Linked DNA regions of Homo sapiens: all the other regions are linked to region 3. Evidence: promoter capture Hi-C in human tissues and cell types (Jung and others, 2019). All regions are on one chromosome and are shown on one strand. Each heading gives the region's core, a stretch centred on a gene start or on the middle of the fragment in contact. The rest is flanking DNA. Distances are from core to core; before and after follow the strand shown.

The links. The method cuts DNA at HindIII sites, captures the fragments that hold promoters and counts their contacts. A contact is called where the count stands out against the background at its distance.
Region 1: a contact is called between a fragment that was not itself captured here and the fragment with the promoter of RCN3 in region 3, in 1 of the 25 tissues and cell types used here (dorsolateral prefrontal cortex).
Region 2: a fragment that was not itself captured here is called in contact with the fragment with the promoter of RCN3 in region 3 in 1 of the 25 tissues and cell types used here (dorsolateral prefrontal cortex).
Region 4: the fragment with the promoter of HRC here is called in contact with the fragment with the promoter of RCN3 in region 3 in 1 of the 25 tissues and cell types used here (dorsolateral prefrontal cortex).

Annotation. Positions count from the first base shown.
Region 1 is chr19:49,913,492-49,917,883 of GRCh38, reverse strand. The region is part of intron 2 of NUP62 (nucleoporin 62); the gene reads left to right. It also overlaps a transcript of IL4I1 not described here. Among named protein-coding and RNA genes, the nearest start is that of ATF5, 14 kb to the left of the region's middle. The HindIII fragment of the contact is 9,177 bases long and covers 1-4,392 here.
Region 2 is chr19:49,221,325-49,226,234 of GRCh38, reverse strand. It overlaps LOC107985340 (a long non-coding RNA gene), which reads right to left and starts at 4,391. Exons shown (of 3, transcript XR_001753971.2): 1 at 3,980-4,391. RefSeq lists an enhancer at 107-156. The HindIII fragment of the contact is 6,440 bases long and covers 1-4,910 here.
Region 3 is chr19:49,525,896-49,530,198 of GRCh38, reverse strand. It overlaps RCN3 (reticulocalbin 3), which reads right to left and starts at 2,196. Exons shown (of 7, transcript NM_020650.3): 1 at 2,141-2,196; 2 at 1,485-1,732. The coding sequence starts at 1,726. FCGRT (Fc gamma receptor and transporter) reads right to left here. Exons shown (of 7, transcript NM_001136019.3): 7 at 3,771-4,189. The coding sequence ends at 4,080. RefSeq lists a silencer at 2,119-2,238 and an enhancer at 1,702-2,280. The HindIII fragment of the contact is 21,368 bases long and covers 1-4,303 here.
Region 4 is chr19:49,154,146-49,158,693 of GRCh38, reverse strand. HRC (histidine rich calcium binding protein) reads left to right here and starts at 3,298. Exons shown (of 6, transcript NM_002152.3): 1 at 3,298-4,548. The coding sequence starts at 3,457. It overlaps TRPM4 (transient receptor potential cation channel subfamily M member 4), which reads right to left and starts at 902. Exons shown (of 25, transcript NM_017636.4): 1 at 804-902; 2 at 435-502. The coding sequence starts at 827. RefSeq lists an enhancer at 547-1,168. The HindIII fragment of the contact is 31,868 bases long and covers 1-4,548 here.

The DNA of each region.
Region 1 (4,392 bases), core at 517-3,016, 390 kb before region 3:
ATTTTTATATTTTTAGTAGAGACGGGGGTTTCACCATGTTGGTCAGCTTGGTCTCGAACTCCTGACCTCAGGTAATCCACCCACCTCGGCCTGCCAGAGTACTGGGATTACAGGCGCGAGCCACCATCCCTGGCCCACTCTGTTTTCTACCAATGGGGTTGGCCATACCCCAGGCAGGGTAGTTATGTAAGAGAGCAGGACAGGAAAGCCCAGGCCACCGCCAGCTCCCGCCAGGCGACTGCAACAGTCTCCTCACTCCTCCCACACAGAGTCTCGGTGAGTCTTTCCCAACATAACCCAGACCCTGACCCACTCATGGTCTCATGCTCCCAAGGCACTCTGGTCTGGCCATTTGGCCTGGACCGCTTGAGCATCTGCCTTGGCTAAGGTCCACTTAGGAAGGTGTTGGTCAGTTGACTTCAGTTCTTGAAGGGCAGACTTGGAGCTGATCTGTTATTCAAGGTTTAGGGGGATTTTCTTTGACGCAAAGGAAAGAGGAACTGATTCAGGAGACGGTTAAGAAGCAGAGTAGTTAGACTTGTGGAGTTTGCAGACGGAGAATCCCAGCACTAGCACTCATGGAGATGGTCCTGGCCAGAGGTTCCCACGGGAGGGCAAGTGAGGGAAGGCAGTGTTGGAGGACGGCGTCTGAGCCTCAGCAGGAATCAAATTTCCCTGGGCTGAGCCCAGCCCATCTCTGATCTCCCCTTGTTTCTCTCCTCTCCACTCCCTCACTCTCTGCTCTTTTCTGCCCTGTTCTGGTCTCTCTGGTTCCACCGGTCATACTTCCCCCAAATCTGAAATAACGAATTCCATGGGGAAAGGGGAGGTCCCACGGAGACAGCTCCGCACCCTGTCCGTCTTGCATCTGGGCTCTGCGTTGTCAGCAGTGCCACCAGGTGGCTGTCAGCCGAATGCCATGGGCCTTTGTTCAAGTGCCTCCCAGAACTTTTTTATTTGTTTGAGACGGGGTCTCGCTCAGCCGCCCAGGCTGAAGTATGGTGGCATGATCACAGCTCACTGCAGCCTCAAACTCCTGGGCTCAAGTCATCCTCCCACCTCTATCTGGGATCACAGGCACACGCCACCATGCCAGGCTAATTTTTGTTTTTTTGTTTTTGAGACGGAGTCTCGCTCTGTCTCCCAGGCTGGAGTGCAGTGGTGTGATCTCGGCTTACTGCAAGCTCCGCCTCCCGGGTTGATGCCATTCTCCTGCCTCAGCCTCCCGAGTAGCTGGGACTACGGGCACCCACCACCACGCCTGGCTAATTTTTTTTTGTATTTTTAGTGCAGACGGGGTTTCACCATGGTCTGGATCTCCTGACCTAGTGATCCGCCCGCCTCGGCCTTCCAAAGTGCTGGGATTACAGGCGTGAGCCACCGCGCCTGGCCTAATTTTTGTATTTTTAGTAGAGATACAAAAATACAAAAGATACCGGGAGGCGGAGCTTGCAGTGAGCCAAGATCCCGCCACTGCACTCCAGCCTGGGCGACAGAGCGAGACTCCGTCTCAAAAAAAAAAAAAAAAATACAAAAGATACACCATGTTGGCCAGGCTAGTCTCGAACTCCTGACCTCAGGTGATCCACCCACCTCAGCCTCCCAAAGTGCTGAGATTACAGATGTGAGCCACCACACTTGGCCAACACTTAATTCTAACATCTTTTCCTCAATGAAACTCTCCCGTCCCAGGCAGAATGTCAAGACTTGGCCCTGGAAAGCTCTGGTTTCCCATCATGGGTCTGCTGTTTGCTGGGTGGCCTTGGGGAGTCTGCACTTGTTTCCCACCCAGGAAGGGCTCGGTGTGCTGCAGTGCAGTGCTCTGGCACGGTGCCGGTTACACAGTAGGTCCCTAGTAAATGGTTGTTACTGAGTCCCTACTGTGTACCAGGCACTGCTGCAGGTGCTGCGAATACAGCAGGGAACAAACGGAAATCTGGCCCAGTGGAGCCGACACCATCCCCACCGTTAGCCTTCCTCTGTGTTCGGAGGCAACCTTGTCCTTCCCTCCCATCATAGATGGCCTATCGTGGCTGGGTGTCAGTGGCAATCCACCCACACACATCCACAGTCCTGGCAGGGTTGCCCCAGCACCAGGGGATGTCTGGATTTTCAGAATCACACCTCACTTTCCTTTCTGTACCAGCCGCCTTGGTCTCCATGCACAAGGGCAGACCTGCCCCTGACCCCAGCCCCTTTCTCAACCCCAGCTCTGCTCTGTGTATTCCCATCCACCTATCTAGATTTCATTCTGTTCTTTCTCCATCGTCCCTCAACCTACCGCCATTGGTTTCTAGTGGCTGCTGTAACAAGTCATCACAAATGTAGTGGTTTAAAGCAACACGAATGTATTTTCACAGTGCTGGGGGTCCAGAGTCTAAATGGGTGCATGGTGTGTAGTTCCTCTGGGAAACTCTAGGGGAGAGGCTATGTCCTTCTTTAGCTCTAGAGGCCGAAGCCGCCTGTGTTCCTTGGCTTGTGGCCCCCTCATCTTCAAAGCCAGCAGCACAGTGTCTCTCAGTCCATTCTTCCATAGGCACATCTCCCTCTGACTCCTGCCTCCCTGAAGAACCCCTGTGGTCACCTGGGGCTCACGTGGATAAGCCAGGGTAACCTCTTTATCTTCATCACATCTGCAAAGTCCCTTTGCCATGTAAGGTCACATTGACAGGGTCCTGGATCAGAGTGTGGGCATGTTTGGGGGCCGTTTTTCTGTCTACCCCCCCACACACATAGCACACATCCTTCCTAATTCTTCCTTTCCTTTTGGTCCAAAGCTGAGGTCTCCTGTATTCTTTCCCAGGCACAGACTCCTGTCCCAGGCATCTAAGGAAAGGGGTTGGGGGCCGGGCACAGTGGCTCACTCCTGTAATCACAGCACTTTAGGAGGCCAAGGTGGGCAGATCACCTGAGGTCAGGAGTTCAAGACCAGCCCGGCTAACATGGTGAAACCCCGTCTCTACTAAAAATACAAAAATTAGCTGGGCATGGTGGTGCACGCCTGTAATCCCAGCTACTCGGGAGGCTGAGGTGGGAGAATTGCTTGAACCCGGGAGGCGGAGGTTGTAGTGAGCCAAGATCGCACCACCACACTCCAGCCTGGGTGGCAGAGCAAGACTCCATCTCAAAAAAAAAAAAAAAAAAAAAAAAAAAAAAACTGGGACTTGGAGTGGCACAAGAATCACAGATGGAGGTAAGGTAGTAGAGCTGACCGAAGGCTGGGGTGACAGCAAAGAACCCTGGTTCTCACAGATGGGGGTGGGATATGCCCACCTGAATTCAGATGATTCCGCATCTGAATCCCAAGCGGGTCTTCCTCCGGGTTCCCAGGGCTGTGAAGGCGGCCGTGTTGTTTGAAACTCAAGGGTAAATGTTGGGGCAGGCAGGCAGGAAGGGAAGGGACTGGCGGCTCTGCCAGCACTTTCCTTGGTGACCTCAAGGCAGCGCTTCTCTGGAGCTGTGTCCTGCCTGGGTGAACTACAGATGGTCACAGCCACCCAGCCCTGAGCACAGGCCCAGGCATACCCTCCTCCTTTCCCTGGAAATGCAACACTCCCTCAGTTTGGGTTCCTCCCTGCTTCCTCCACCGCCACCAGCACCATCAGCTTCTTTGGTAAGGAAACTCTCCCCTTTGGCAAATGTGGTAATTCCGGGATCAGAGCTCGTAATAGTTTGCATTTGTGAGAAACTTCCCAAGTTCTAGTATTTGTGGCTTTTTGTTTTTTGTTTTTTGCCTCAAACTCCTGGGCTTAAGCAATCCTCCTGCCTTGGCCTCCGAAAGTACTGGGATTACAGGTGTGAGCCATCATGCCTGGCCTGTCACTGTTAACCTGGACAGACCCTGTGGTTTTGGTGCAAATTTAACACTTTGCTCAAATTGTGATGCTGTCCTCTCTGAGTTCCAGTTCGGGCCTCAGGCTCTTGGCCTGGACCTTCTCCCAGTCTTCTCTAAGCCACCTGGCCTCCAGCCTCTACCCCTACGGTTCATCCCCCACACCCATAAAGTCCGCCTGTGGCTCCCTCAATATAACGCCCGAACCGTTAGCATGGTATGTATGGGTCTGCCAGATTCTCCCGCCTGTCACGTGGCCCACAGTCCCCAAGACCACCCTGCGGCTCAGTGATGAGCTAAGACTCACAGAGCTCAGCAAAGCTTTCTACTCACAGTCACGGTCACGGTTTATTATGGAGAAATGATACAGACTGAAAACAGCAAAGGGGAGAGATGCAAAAGCCCCAAGGGAGACCAGGCACGAGCTTCCAGCTCTCCTCTGCAGGTAGAGAGAGTCCCGCGGACAGTGCTCAGTTCTCCCTGCAACAGCGTGTGGTAACGCTTACGGAGCAGTGGCGGCCCGGGTTGTGGGGAGGACATGGCGCACCCGTGTGGCTGAA
Region 2 (4,910 bases), core at 488-2,987, 300 kb after region 3:
TGGGGTTAGGTGGTTGCTGCCCCCTAGTGGACATCTTTAGGTTTAACATAGTGGAATGCGCCCAGCCGTTTAAGGGAACCCGTTTGAATTGAGGGCCCCATTGAGCCAGAGGAATTGCCTCAGGCAGGGGAGTGGAGGAGAGTTTTCTCCAAATGGGGTAGCTGCTGCGGGGTGCGGCGGCTCACACTTGTAATTCCAGCACTTTGGGAGGCCGTGGCAGGAGGATTGCTTGAGCCCAGGAGTTCAAGACCAGCATGGGCAACACAGCGAGACTCTGTCTCTGGAAAAAAAAAAAATTAAAAAATTAACCGGGTATGCTGGCGCATGCCTATAGTCCCAGCTACTCAGGAGGTTGAGGTGGGAGGATCGCTTGAGCCCAGGAGTTCCAGGCTGCAGTGAGCCACGATCATGCCACTGCACTCCAGCCTGGGCAACACAGCAAGACCGTCTCGAAACAGAAAACAGAAGAAACAGGGGTAGCTGTGACTTTTGTATGTAAAACTCAGAAGACCTGAGGACCAGACCAGCTGTGCTCTTAGACGTACCCTTTACCTTTGGCCATTTCCGGTATTGCTAGTGAAGCTGCAGTTAACCTACCCGAGAACAAGGGTGTGAGGCTGGGGAGTCAAAGGCCACCACAAGCCAGGCGTTTGCTTTCAAGGAGAGCTTAATAGTGATTCATAGCGGCCTTCTTTTCTTTTTTTATTATTTATTAGAAGAGAGACAGGGCCGGGCACGGTGGCTCACGCCTGTAATCCCAGCACTTTGTGAGGCAGAGGTGGGTAGATCCCAAGGTCAAGAGATCAAGACCATCCTGACCAACATGGTGAAACCCAGTCTCTACTAACAATACAAAAGTTATCTGGGCATGGTGGCAGGTGCCTGTAATCCCAGCTACTGGGGAGGCTGAGGCAGGAGAATCGCTTGAACCCCAGAGGTGGAGGTTGCAGTGAACCGAGATCGTACCACTGCACTCCAGCCTGGTCACAGAGCAAGACTCTGTCTCAAAATAAATAAATAAAATTTTAATTTAAAAAAAACAGAGATGGGTTTTCACTATGTCGCCCAGGCTGGTCTTGAACTCCTGGACTCAAGCAATCCACCCACCTCTTGGTGTGAGCCACCGCACCCAGCCCAGCTGCCCTTTCTTTTTAAAAGGAGTGTACTTGGTGGCCGTGTCAGGCAGGTGGCACTGTGGCACTGGGAAACGGCTTCCCGGAGCACTCCAGCAGCCATTTAGTCATTACAGTTGTGTTTCCTTTTCTACTGGGATCCCACATTGTTTCTGGTAGAGGTGAAGAGGGCGGCATATGCCACAGCCTCCGACTGGTAGAATCCTCTGATAACAAGGCATGTGTAGTTTTTTCGAGCATGTAAAGCATCAGTACCAATTACACCCGCTCAGTCGTGGAAACCACACAGCGGGACATTGAATTGGCTCTAGGTGCCACACCCAACGAGATCTCTTCAGCTTCCCTTCCCACTGGGAGCCTGACTGGTTGAATTCAGGTACTTGGACCAAGAAGTCTGTGGGTCAGGGACTACAGCCTCAGCCCTGGAGCAACTTGGGGCTGGGGGGCATCCCAGGGGGACAGCAAAGGCAGGGGAAAAAAACTCATTGTTGGTCGGGCGCGGTGGCTCACACCTGTAGTTCCAGCACTTTGGGAGGCCGAGGCGGGCGGATCACTTGAGGTCAGGAGTTCAAGACCTGACTGACCAACATGGAGAAACTCCGTCTCTACCAAAAATACAAAATTAGCCAGGTGTGGTGGTGCACACCTGTAGTCCCAGCTACTCAGGAGGCTGAGGCAGGAGAATTGCTTGAACCTGGGAGGCGGAGCTTGCAGTGAGCAGAGATCGCGTCATTGCACTCCAGTCTGGGCAACAAGAGTGAAACTCCATCTCAAAAAAAAAAAAAAAAAAAAAAAAAGGGCCGGGCATGGTGGCTCACACTTGTAATCCCAGCACTTTGGGAGGCAGAGGCGGGTGGATCATGAGATCAGGAGATCGAGACCATCCTGGCTAACACGGTGAAACCTCGTCTCTATAAAAAATACAAAAAATTAGCCAGGCATGGTGGCGGGCACCTGTAGTCCCAGTTACTGGGGAGGCTGAGGCAGGAGAATGGCATGAACCCAGGAAGCAGAGCTTGCCGTGAGCCAAGATCATGCCACTGCACTCCAGCTTGGGCGACAGAGCAAGACTCCATCTCAAAAAACAAACAACAAAAAAACTTCATTATTGACCTCTCTATCGGCTCACTTGGCTCCTCCCTCCAGGATCAGTGCCAGAGCTGCAACCCAGGTACCTCCCAGGACCCAGCAAGTTCTTAGGCACAGAGGCCCCTCTCTTTCTGCTCTTCCACAGATGGCCAGGCTCAGCCCTCCCAGTCCTCAGCATCTTTGACCAGCCCTGCACCCAGCTGTGGACTGGATCCAAATTGGACCGTGGTGGGGCCAGAAACACTCGCAGGGTGGGATCTTCACTAATGTTTTCAGCCCACTGAAGGCTCAATATCAAATAGCAAGGCAGGGCATAGCGGCTCATGCCTGTAATCTCAGGGCTTTCGGAGGCCGAGGTGATTGCATCACTTGTGCTCAGGAGCTCACGACCAGCCTGGGAAACATAGCGAGACCTCATCTCTACAAAAAAATTTTAAATTAGCTGGGTGTAGTGGTGCATACGTGTGGTCCCAGCTACTCGGGAGGCTGAGTGGGGAGGACCCCTTGGCCCTGGGAGTTTGAGGCTACAGTGAGCCATGTTTGCGCCACTGTACTTCAGCCTGGGTGACAGAGCAAGACCCTGTCTCAAAACAAAGAAACAAATAACAAGGTCCTTGTTGCTGATACCACTTCGGTTTCAGAGACCCTTTGACCCAGCGGCCACAGCCATGCTGCCTCTTGGTTGGGTCCCTGGGGCTTGTTGTCTCATTTTCATGATCCCATTTCTTCCTCCACCTGCCTGGAGAAGGGTAAGAACCCAGGTGCAGCCAGGCACCATTTGCCCACTGTTTTGCCCACTGATTTTGATCCTATCTGTAGCCACTGAGCCTCATTAACAAGTAGGACAGGCTGGGTGCGGTGGCTCATGCTTGCAATCCCAGCACTTTGGGAGGCCGAAGCAGGTGGATCACCTGAGGTCGGGAGTTCGAGACCAGCCTGACCAACATGGAGAAACCCCGTCTCTACTAAAAATACAAAATTAGCCGGGCGTGGCGGTGCCTGCCTGTAATCCCAGCTACTCGGGAGGCTGAGGCAGGAGAATTGCTTGAACCCAGGAGGCGGAGGTTGCAGTGAGCCGAGGTTGCACCACTGCACTCCAGCCTGGGCAACAACAGTGAAACTCCATCTAAAAAAAAAAAAAAAAAAAATACAAGTAGGACAGTGAAGACCTCTATTCCTGGCCATCCTCCTCTACTTGGATGAGAGAATTCCCTACTGGATCCCAGGGATTCTTCTCATATTTTTGAACCAGGCCCATGGAGGCCCTGTCCTTCCAATTCCAGAAAGCCACGCCTCTGTCAACATCCCATCCTTTTCCACACTACCAGGTCCGGACTTTCATTTTGTCCTACTTACAAGCCAGCCTGGGCTGGGTGCAGTGGCTCATGCCTGTAATCCCAGCACCTTGGGAGGCTGAAGCAGGAGGATCCCTTGAGCCCAGGAGATCGAGACCACTCTGGGCAATGTAGCCAGACCGTCTCTACAAAATGTAAAAAATTAGTTGGGCATAGTGGCATGCACCTGTAGTCCCAGCTACTCGGGAGGCTGAGGTGGGAGGATCACTTGAGCCCAGGTTGGAGTGCACCATTGCACTCCAGCCTGGGTGACAGAGTGAGACCCTGTCCCTAATTCAATGAATCAATCAATAAAATAAAAAATAAAAATAAAAATAAAACAAGCTAGCCCATTACTGTTTCACAAATGTTGCCAGAAGACACAAGACTCCTGGGCCAGAGACAAGGGACTTTATTACTCACCAGCCAGCAGGGAGCATGAGCATCAATGCCTTGGTATTCATTCTCCTGGACTCCAAGGTCCCACGGGGGCTGGTGCAGATGTCTGTAATCCCGTGGGTTCTGAAGAAGATAAAGAGCTCCTGGGTGGAGCTTGATTTTAAAAAGCTCTTGCTAAAGAGGCTCCCACTCAAATGCGGCCATCTGTCTGGTCACTTGCTGCAGCCACGTTAGTGAAATTTCCACACGTGAGATGTGGCGTCCTCAAGATCCCAAAAGGCTTATCAGTTGCAACACCTTTGTAGTTGGAGGTGGCAGGACCAACAGTTTGTCTTTTTTAAGCTATGAAATGTCCCTTTAAGCTGCGGCCCAGCTAGTCCTCATGATGATGATTGGGATAACAGGGTCTTTGTTCTTGCAGTCACAGCTAACTAAGGGCAGGTGGGCATTGTCCTCATTCAACACCCACCTGCCCTTAGTTAGCTTCGACTGGATGGCAGCTGATACAATACAACAGTGCAGGCCATTACCCAAAAGCCGTTTCTTCCAAAGAACGCATAAGGCTGGGCGCAGTGGCTCACACCTGTAATCCCAGCACTTTGGGAGGCCAAGGCAGGAGAATCGCTTGAACCCAGGAGTTCCAGACCAGCTTGAGCAACATAATGAAACCCATCTCTATTTAAAAAAAAAAAAATAAAAACTTAGCTGGGTATAGTGGTGTGCATCTGTAATCCCAGCTACTCAGGAGGCTGAGGCAGGAGGATCACTTGTGCTCAGGAGTTTGAGACCAGCCTGGGCAACATAGTAAGATCCCGTCTCTACTAAAATTTTTTTATAAATTACGTGGGCACGGTGGCATACAACTGTAGTCCCAGCTACTCAGGAGACTGAGGTGGGAGAATCTCCTGAGCCCAGGAGTTCAAGGATGCAGTGAGCTATGATCATGCCACTGCAT
Region 3 (4,303 bases), core at 947-3,446:
ACAGAGTCTCACTCTGTCTCCAAAAAAAAAAAAGGAAAGAAAAAAAACTTTGCTGGATGTGGAGGCGTTCACTTGTAGCTAGGACTTGTAGCGTTCACTTGTAGCTAGGACTCTAGCTACTAGGGAGTACGAGGCAGAACAACTGGTTGAACCCGGGAGGCGGAGGTTCCACTGAGCCGAGATCACGTCACTGCACTCCAGCCTGGGTGACAGAGCGAGACTCCATCTCAAAAACAACAACAACAAAAATAAAAATAAAAAATAAAAATACAAAATTAGCTGGGCGTGGTGGCTAGCGCCTGTAATCCCAGCTACTTGGGAGGCTGAGACAGGACAATTGCTTGAGCCCAGGAGGTGGAGGTTGCAGTGAGCCGAGATCGCACCACTGCACTCCAGCCTGGGTGACAGAGCGAGACTCCATCTCAATAAGTAAATAAATAAATAAATAAATAAATAAAAATTGCAACTCCCCCCCACCAACAACCTCTCCCCTCCACACTTTCTGACTCTCTTGCTTTATCTTTCTTGGATGCATTTATCTCTATTTGATCCACTTTCTACTTATTGACTTCTTGCTGTTTCCCTCACCACAGTGTAAACTTCAGGAGGACAGATGTGTTAGCTGTTGTGACTTCAGCACCTAGAGCAGTGCCTGGCACATAGCAGGTGCTCGATAAACCTTTGCAGGCTCAATCAGTGTCAGGAGGATGCACAGAAGAAGGCGGCTGCTCCCATCGCGCCCCCCTGCGCTCAGGCCTGGACGGAGAGGGTGGACAGGGCTCCATTCCACCCAGCTCACCCTGAAACTCAGGGCTCTGCCACTCTCCTGCACTGGCCGGGCTCCTTAAAGGCCAAACCTCATTTTCCACACCAGTCCCTGCCATTTACAGAGCAGGAAACTGAGGCTTGGGGAGGGGAGATGTCTGGGACAAAAGAATAAGGAGCGCTTAGGGGGCAGAATCTAACCCAGATTTTGCTGCCCTCAAAGGTCCTCTTTTTTATTGTTGTTGTTGTTTTTTAGACGGAGTCTCACTTTGTCGCCCTGACTGGAGGGCAGTGGTGCAATTTTGGCTCACTGCAACCTCCACCTCCCAGGTTCAAGCGATTCTCCTGCCTCAGCCTCCCGAGTAGCTGGGATTACAGGTGCCCACCACCACGCCTGCCTAATTTTGTATTTTTAGTAGAGACGGGATTTCACCATGTTGGCCAGGCTGTTCTCGAACTCCTGACCTCAAGTGATCGGCCTGCCTTGGCCTCCCAAAGTGCTGGGATTACAGGCATGAGCCACCACGCCCGGTCTCAAAGGTCCTCTTTAGGCCTCAATTTTAACTTAATTTCTTTTTCCCAAGGATAGAAGGTAGAATTTCATTTCTCACAAAGAAATGAAGTTCAGTCCACGCCATTTCTCTGACCCCTGTCGATACCCCCGCGTCTCTCTCCTAAGCCCCACCTCTGGACACGCCCCAACCGAATGTCTCTCTTACCCCAGACGGGCCTGGCTTTCCTCTGGGGTGAGTTGGTCGAATTCCTTGGCCACTTCCCGTCCCAGGAAAGCCTCATGGTCGTACTGGAAGTTCCCGTGGGCGTCATCATGGGGAGCGTCGCTCAGGGGGGCCGCCTGGTGCACCCTCCCCTGGCCATGAGGGCCTGCGTCTGGGGATGGCTTCCCCTGGGCCCCGTGCCTCAGTAGCAACAGAAGCAGCAGAACTGATGGTCGCCACATCATCGGTCCCTGGGGAGTGGCAAAGGCCAGGGGTCAGGGGTCACAGGGATGGGGACAGACACGGGATAGGAGAATGGCGGGGTGGAGGGGTTACCTAGGACAGGACAGGGAGTTGGAAGTTGGCTGCAAGCTTTCGGGCTCAAAAAGGGCGGGCGATGGGGGAAAAGAGGGCGGGATGCTTAGAGGTAAAGCCACCTATGGGGAGGACCGAATCTTCTGACGGAGTCTCAGGGGGGTCCCAGACCTGCCAGGGGGAATTACAGAGACAGACGTGGCGCACATCCCACGCAAGGTGCAGGGCATAGTTGTGGCCAGCGAGAGGTCAGGCAGGCTCCCCGTCATTGCTCCCAGTCCGGACCCTGGTCCTCGACCCGAGCCGCCCTCCCTGGACAGAGGCCCCCCACCCACTCCCTTTACCCTGTTATCCAGCTTCGCTCCGCTCTCCACGCTCCGCTCTGCGTTCCCGCAAATGTGCCCAATTCGGCCGCTCTCCAGTCAGGCCCCGCCTCTGGCAGCGCAGAGCCCCGCCCCCCGCCCAATGAGCTCGCACGAGCGTCTCACGGGGCGGGGCCAATGAGTGCACGGGGTGCCGCGGGCACTCCTCGCCACGTCCACAAAGGAAACCGCGGCCTGCCCGGGGAAGAAGGGTGGGCGACACCGCAGTGACGCGGCCGGGGAGAACTACAACTCCTGGCAGTCGTCGCGGCACTCTGCCGTCCACCTCCAGCTGTTCTAGTCACAACGCCTCACGGGAAATGTATTTTTCCCTTTCCCTTTGTCAGGATGGTTTAAGAAAGAGGTGTACGTTCCAACACTTCTATACCAAACAAAACAAAACAAAACAAAAATAAACAAAAAGAACGAAAGAAAAGAAAAAAGGCCGGGCGCGGTGGCTCACGCCTGTAATCCCAGAACTTTGGGAGGCCGAGGCGGGCGGATCGCCTGAGGTCGGGAGTTCGAGACCAGCCTGATCAACACGGAGAAACCCCATCTCTACTAAACATACAAAATTAGCCGGGTGTGGTGGCGCATGTCTTTAATCCCAGCTACTTTGGGAGGCTGAGGCAGGAGAATTGCTTGAACCTGGGAGGCGGAGGTTGTGGTGAGCCGAGATCGCACCATTGCATTCCAGCCTGGGCAACAAGAGCGAAACTCCGTCTCAAAAAAAAAAAGAAAGAAAAGAAAAGAAAAGAAAAGGGAGAGCAGAATCAAGGGGCCGGAGGAAATATCCCATTTCCTCCAAGAGTGAACACTGCTCCTCGCTCCTCTTCGGCTCCAAGGATTCAGGTGGTCAGACAGTAGCCAAGAATTCCTCAAAATGCCTGGCATGGCAGTCATCCAGTAAATATTTGTAAAAGTTATGAATTAAAAATACATGACCTCAGGTTGAGCACAGTAGCTCAATGCCTGTAATCCCAGAACTTTGGGAAGCTGAGGCAGGTGGATCACCTGAGGTCAGGAGTTCCAGACCAGCCTGACCAACATGGTGAAACCCCGTCTCTACTAAATACAAAAAATTAGCCGGGTGTGGTGGTGCATGCCTGTAATCCCAGCTACTTGGGAGGCAGGAGAATTGCTTGAACCTGGGAGGCGGAGGTTGCAGTGAGCTGAGATCACGCAATTGTACTCCAGTCTGAGCAACAAGAGCAAAACTCTGTCTTAAAAAAAAAAAAAAAAAGTGACCTTAGGCCGGGCGCGGTGGCTCACACTTGTAATCCCACCCCTTTGGGAGGCAGAGGCGGGTGGATCATGAGGTCAGGAGATCGAGACCATCCTGGCTAACATGGTGAAACCCCGTCTGTACTAAAAATACAAAAAATTAGCCAGGCATGGTGGCAGGCGCCTGTAGTCCCAGCTACTCGGGAGCCTGAGGCAGGAGAATGGCGTGAACCCAGGGAGGCGGAGCTTACAGTGAGCCGAGATCGCGCCACAGGACTCCGGACTGAGCAACAGAGCAAGACTCCGTCTAAAAAAAAAGAAAAAAGAAAAAGAAAAAGAAAATACATGACCTGATGTATAAAACTGGCAGGTTCCCCTGTGGCAGCATGTTACCTGTAGGAGAGATCCGAGGCCCAGCCGCCATTCAGTCCCCCGACTTATTCCCTTACCTCCCCTGCCTGAAAAATGATGAGAACACACTGATTCGGGCCCAAACTCGTGTTATATTATCGAGGTGGAAAACAGCCATATGTATTAGGAGGGGAAACTGAGGCAGACCACAGGACGGGGCTCCAGAGGGAGGACAACTAGGCCCAGAACCCCTTCTGGAGGCTCAGAGATGCCAGTGTTCCAGGAGGTCTCACAGCATGAAAGGGGCCTGACTACATTCGCTTTTAGCAGTCGGAATGGCGGATGGTCAGGCGGTGGCTGGAATCACATTTACATCCTTCAAATCAGCATCCTGGGCCTCCCCTGGGGTGGGCAGGAGGACCCCGGTGTCGTCTCCACGAAGGGAGATCCAAGGGGCTGAGGAGAGAGAGAGAGGGAGAGGTCATCAGAATCTCTGAGGCGCTCTGGGTCTGACTGGCGTCCCCCATTTGTGTGTGTGTCTCACACACTCTTCCTCAGTCTCTATCCCCT
Region 4 (4,548 bases), core at 2,049-4,548, 370 kb after region 3:
ACCCTGGCAGGGCCGTTGAATTAGGCTAAAGGGACCTTGGGAGCGCTGAGTGAGGGTTTCTTGCATGGATGGATGAATGAATGAATGAATGAATGAATGAATGAATGAAACAGAAATACCCAAAAGGGAAAGACAGAGACACAGAAAGTGACACGAAGAGACAGAAGCACATAGAAGAGACATCGGGGAGGAAAGAAGCAGAACCGAGCCCTGGAGCGTCTACACTGACCCTGAGCGGGAGAATGGCGAATGGGGAATGAGGGGTGTCTACACAGACCCAAACGCTCCTAGAGGGAGAGCGTCGGCAAGGAACGCCCTTGGGAAGGTCCCCGAGTCCAGGAATGGGGAAGGAGCAGGGCTGGGGCGTGACCATCCGCGGGCGGGGTCAGCGGGCCGCGGACCCTCTGGGGTCAGTCCAGGGGCGAACTCCTCACCCCGGATCTGTGGAGTCAACTATGAACGTCGTGCAGGTCTTCTTCTTGAAGATCTTGGGGATCCAGCTCTGGGGACAGGAACAAATGTAGGGGTGGAAGTGGGGTGAGAGGGCACCCAGTTCTGTCCTATGGGACACAGAGCCACCCACCCCGTGCGCTCCCCACGGACACAGGAGTCCGGGCCCCCAGCGCCCTCCCGCTCCAGACTCAGGAGTCTCGACCCCCATGCCCTGGACCCTGGAACCTGGACCCTCCCATCCCCCTCCTCCGTCTGACCCAGGAATCTGGGTGTCCAGCGCCCTCCTCTCTGGGAGCCTGGAGGCGAGGTCCCCAGCTCCGCGCTCCCGCAGACCCTGGTCCGGCGCTCACCTGCTCCTTCTCCGGCACCACCATGCTGCCGCGGCCGCCGCAACCTCCTGCAGCCCAGGGCCCCGGCGCTCCCTCCGCCGGCTCTGCTTCCAGACCCGCCCAGAGCAAACCGGATCCTCCACTTTCCAGCCTAGCCTGGGGCGGGGCGAGGTCTGGGGGGCGGGGAGTCTTGGAGACGCCAAAGCGGGAGGCGGGGAGAGGGCGGGTCCCAGGCCGCGATAAGGGGACAGAGGGACAGCGACCTGGGGGGTGCAGAGGTCCGGGCCGGGGGGAGAGAGACACACAGGGGAGACTCCAAGGGCAAGCGCGAGATGGGAACAGAAGGAGTTGGGGGCCAGTGGCGGAGAGGGAACAGACTCAGAAAGGAGGATGCCAGACAGGGAGGGGACAATTTAACCCAAAGAGGGGGAGACAAAGACTTAGGGGACAGAGAATCAGAAGGTGGGGCAGCAGGGACCCAGGGATAGACAGAGAGAGAGGGGGACAGAGACCCACAGAGAGAGGGGGACAGAGACCCAGGGAGAGGGGACAGAGACCCAGAGAGAGTGGGACAGAGACCCAGAGAGAGTGGGACAGAGACCCACAGAGAGAGGGGGACAGAGACCCAGGGAGAGGAGGACAGAGACCCAGAGAGGGGGGGACAGAGACCCAGAGAGGGGGGGACAGAGACCCAGGGAGGGGGGGACAGAGACCCAGGGAGAGGGGACAGAGACCCACGGAGAGGGGGACAGAGACCCAGGGAGAGGGGACAGAGACCCAGAGAGAGGGGGACAGAGACCCAGAGAGAGGGGGACAGAGACCCAGAGAGACGGGGACAGAGACCCAGAGAGAGGGGGACAGAGACCCAGAGAGAGGGGAACAGAGACCCAGAGAGAGAGGAGGACAGAGACCCAGAGAGAGGGGGACAGAGACCCAGAGAGACGGGGACAGAGACCCAGAGAGAGGGGGACAGAGACCCAGAGAGAGGGGAACAGAGACCCAGAGAGAGAGGAGGACAGAGACCCAGAGAGAGGGGGACAGAGACCCAGAGAGGGGGGGACAGAGACCCAGGGATGGGGGGACAGAGACCCAGGGAGAGGGGACAGAGACCCACGGAGAGGGGTACAGAGACCCAGGGAGAGGGGACAGAGACCCAGAGAGAGGGGGACAGAGACTCTGAGACAGAGGGGGACAGAGACCCTGAGAGAGGGGGACAGAGACCCAGAGAGAGGGGAACAGAGACCCAGAGAGAGAGGGGGACAGAGACCCACAGAGAGAGGGGAACAGAGACCCAGAGAGAGGGGGACAGAGATCCACAGAGAGAGGGGGACAGAGACCCACAGAGAGAGGGGAACAGAGACCCAGAGAGAGGGGGACAGAGATCCACAGAGAGAGGGGGACAGAGACCCAGGGAGAGGGGGACAGAGACCCAGAGAGAGGGGGACAGAGACCCAGGGAGAGGTGGACAGAGACTCTGAGACAGAGGGGGACAGAGACTCTGAGAGAGAGTGGGGACAGAGACCCAGAGAGGTGGATGCCAGAGATGGGGAGGAGACACCTTGACTGAGGCAAGGGGCAGAGGGGGATGCAAAAACCAAAGAATTGGGGGAAGGGCAGGAACTCAGAAAGGAGGGGCCAGAGATTTAGGGGAGAGAGAGGGACACAGACTTGGGGGAGGACTGACACTAAGATAAGAGTGGGACAGAAGCCCAGAGTGAGAGGGAGAGGCAATCCCATGGAGGAGGGACAGGGACCCTGAGAGAGCAGATGACAGAATTGAAGAGAGAGGAGGACCCGTGAACAGGAAAGGAGACCCTAGTGGGGGCAGTCATGAAGGGTGAGGAGTAGGAAATACTGACACACAGAGACGGGCAAGGCCACTTGTCTCCTGCCAGCCCTCTGTGATGGGGACAGCTGTGGCCTCCGTAACCTGAGTCCCCCTACCCCTCCCAGCTGTATTTATAGCCCTGGCCTAGCCCAGTCCCTGCCCCCAGATCTGAGTTCCAGGGACAGGAGGTCATGGGCACGTGTGTTGGGGGCCATGTTCCTTTCCCCCCATTCTAGGGCCTCAATACTGACATCACTCTCTCACCAGCACGTATCATTCCAGCTGGAAACACCCCGCAATCGAACCCCCAGTCCTTCCGTCCCAGGAGTCTCTCCCCTCTGATAAGTCTCTTCTGCCTCCCCCAGGTGCCCCAGGCTCCCCCAAAAACCTGCTAAAAGTCTAGCCTTTGTCTTTGCAGCTGCCAAACGTGAGCTTGTTGGTAGTTCAAAGTCAAGTCCCTTGGCCACCGTCTCCTGGCCAGGGAGAGACCCCTCACTGGTCCCCTCCCCAGCTGGGAGGAGGAGGAGCAGGAGGCAGGCAGGCGGGGACTGACCCAGAATAACTCAGGGCTGAGAGTAAATTTAGCTGGAGAGAGGGGAGGGGAAGGACCCTATTGGCTGGGGAATGGGGAGGGAGGGCCCCAGAGGGGGGTCAGGGGGCTCCGGAGACAGCCTCAGAGGGGTGTCCAGAGCCAGGCAGCAAGGACCAGAGGAAGGTGGACAGAGACCGAAAGGACAAAGGAGAGACACAGAGAAAAAAAGAGACCAACCCCAAAGGGACAAAGACCCCAACGTTTGTCCACATTGCCGCAGAGGCAGCTGGAGCCAGTGCTGCCTGTCCGTCCCCATGGGCCACCATAGGCCATGGCTGCACGCTTCTGTCCTCTGGGCTGGGGTGGCCAGCCTGCTCCTCCCCCCGGCCATGACCCAGCAGCTCAGAGGGGATGGGCTAGGCTTCAGAAACCGGAACAACAGCACTGGAGTCGCCGGGCTCTCCGAGGAGGCATCAGCAGAGCTTCGCCACCACCTCCACAGCCCTAGAGACCATCCAGATGAGAACAAGGATGTTTCCACAGAGAATGGGCATCATTTCTGGAGCCACCCAGACCGTGAAAAGGAGGATGAAGATGTCTCCAAGGAATATGGGCACCTACTCCCAGGCCACAGGTCCCAAGACCACAAAGTCGGAGATGAGGGTGTCTCAGGTGAGGAGGTCTTTGCAGAGCATGGTGGGCAGGCCCGTGGGCACAGAGGCCACGGGAGTGAAGACACGGAAGACTCAGCTGAGCACAGGCACCACCTCCCCAGCCACAGGAGCCACAGCCATCAAGACGAGGATGAGGATGAAGTTGTGTCCAGTGAGCATCACCATCATATCCTCAGGCATGGACACCGAGGCCATGATGGGGAAGATGATGAAGGAGAAGAGGAGGAGGAGGAGGAGGAGGAGGAAGAGGAGGCCTCCACTGAGTATGGACACCAGGCCCACAGGCACCGAGGCCATGGGAGTGAAGAGGATGAGGATGTCTCAGATGGACACCATCATCATGGCCCCAGCCACAGGCACCAAGGCCATGAAGAAGATGACGATGATGATGATGATGATGATGATGATGATGATGATGATGATGTCTCCATTGAATATAGACACCAGGCTCACAGGCACCAAGGCCACGGGATTGAAGAGGATGAAGATGTCTCAGATGGACACCATCATCGCGACCCCAGCCACAGGCACCGAAGCCATGAAGAAGATGACAATGATGATGATGATGTCTCCACTGAGTATGGACACCAGGCCCACAGGCACCAAGACCACAGAAAGGAAGAGGTTGAGGCTGTCTCAGGTGAACACCACCATCATGTCCCTGACCACAGGCACCAAGGCCACAGAGACGAGGAAGAAGATGAGGATGTGTCCACTGAACGTTGGCACCAG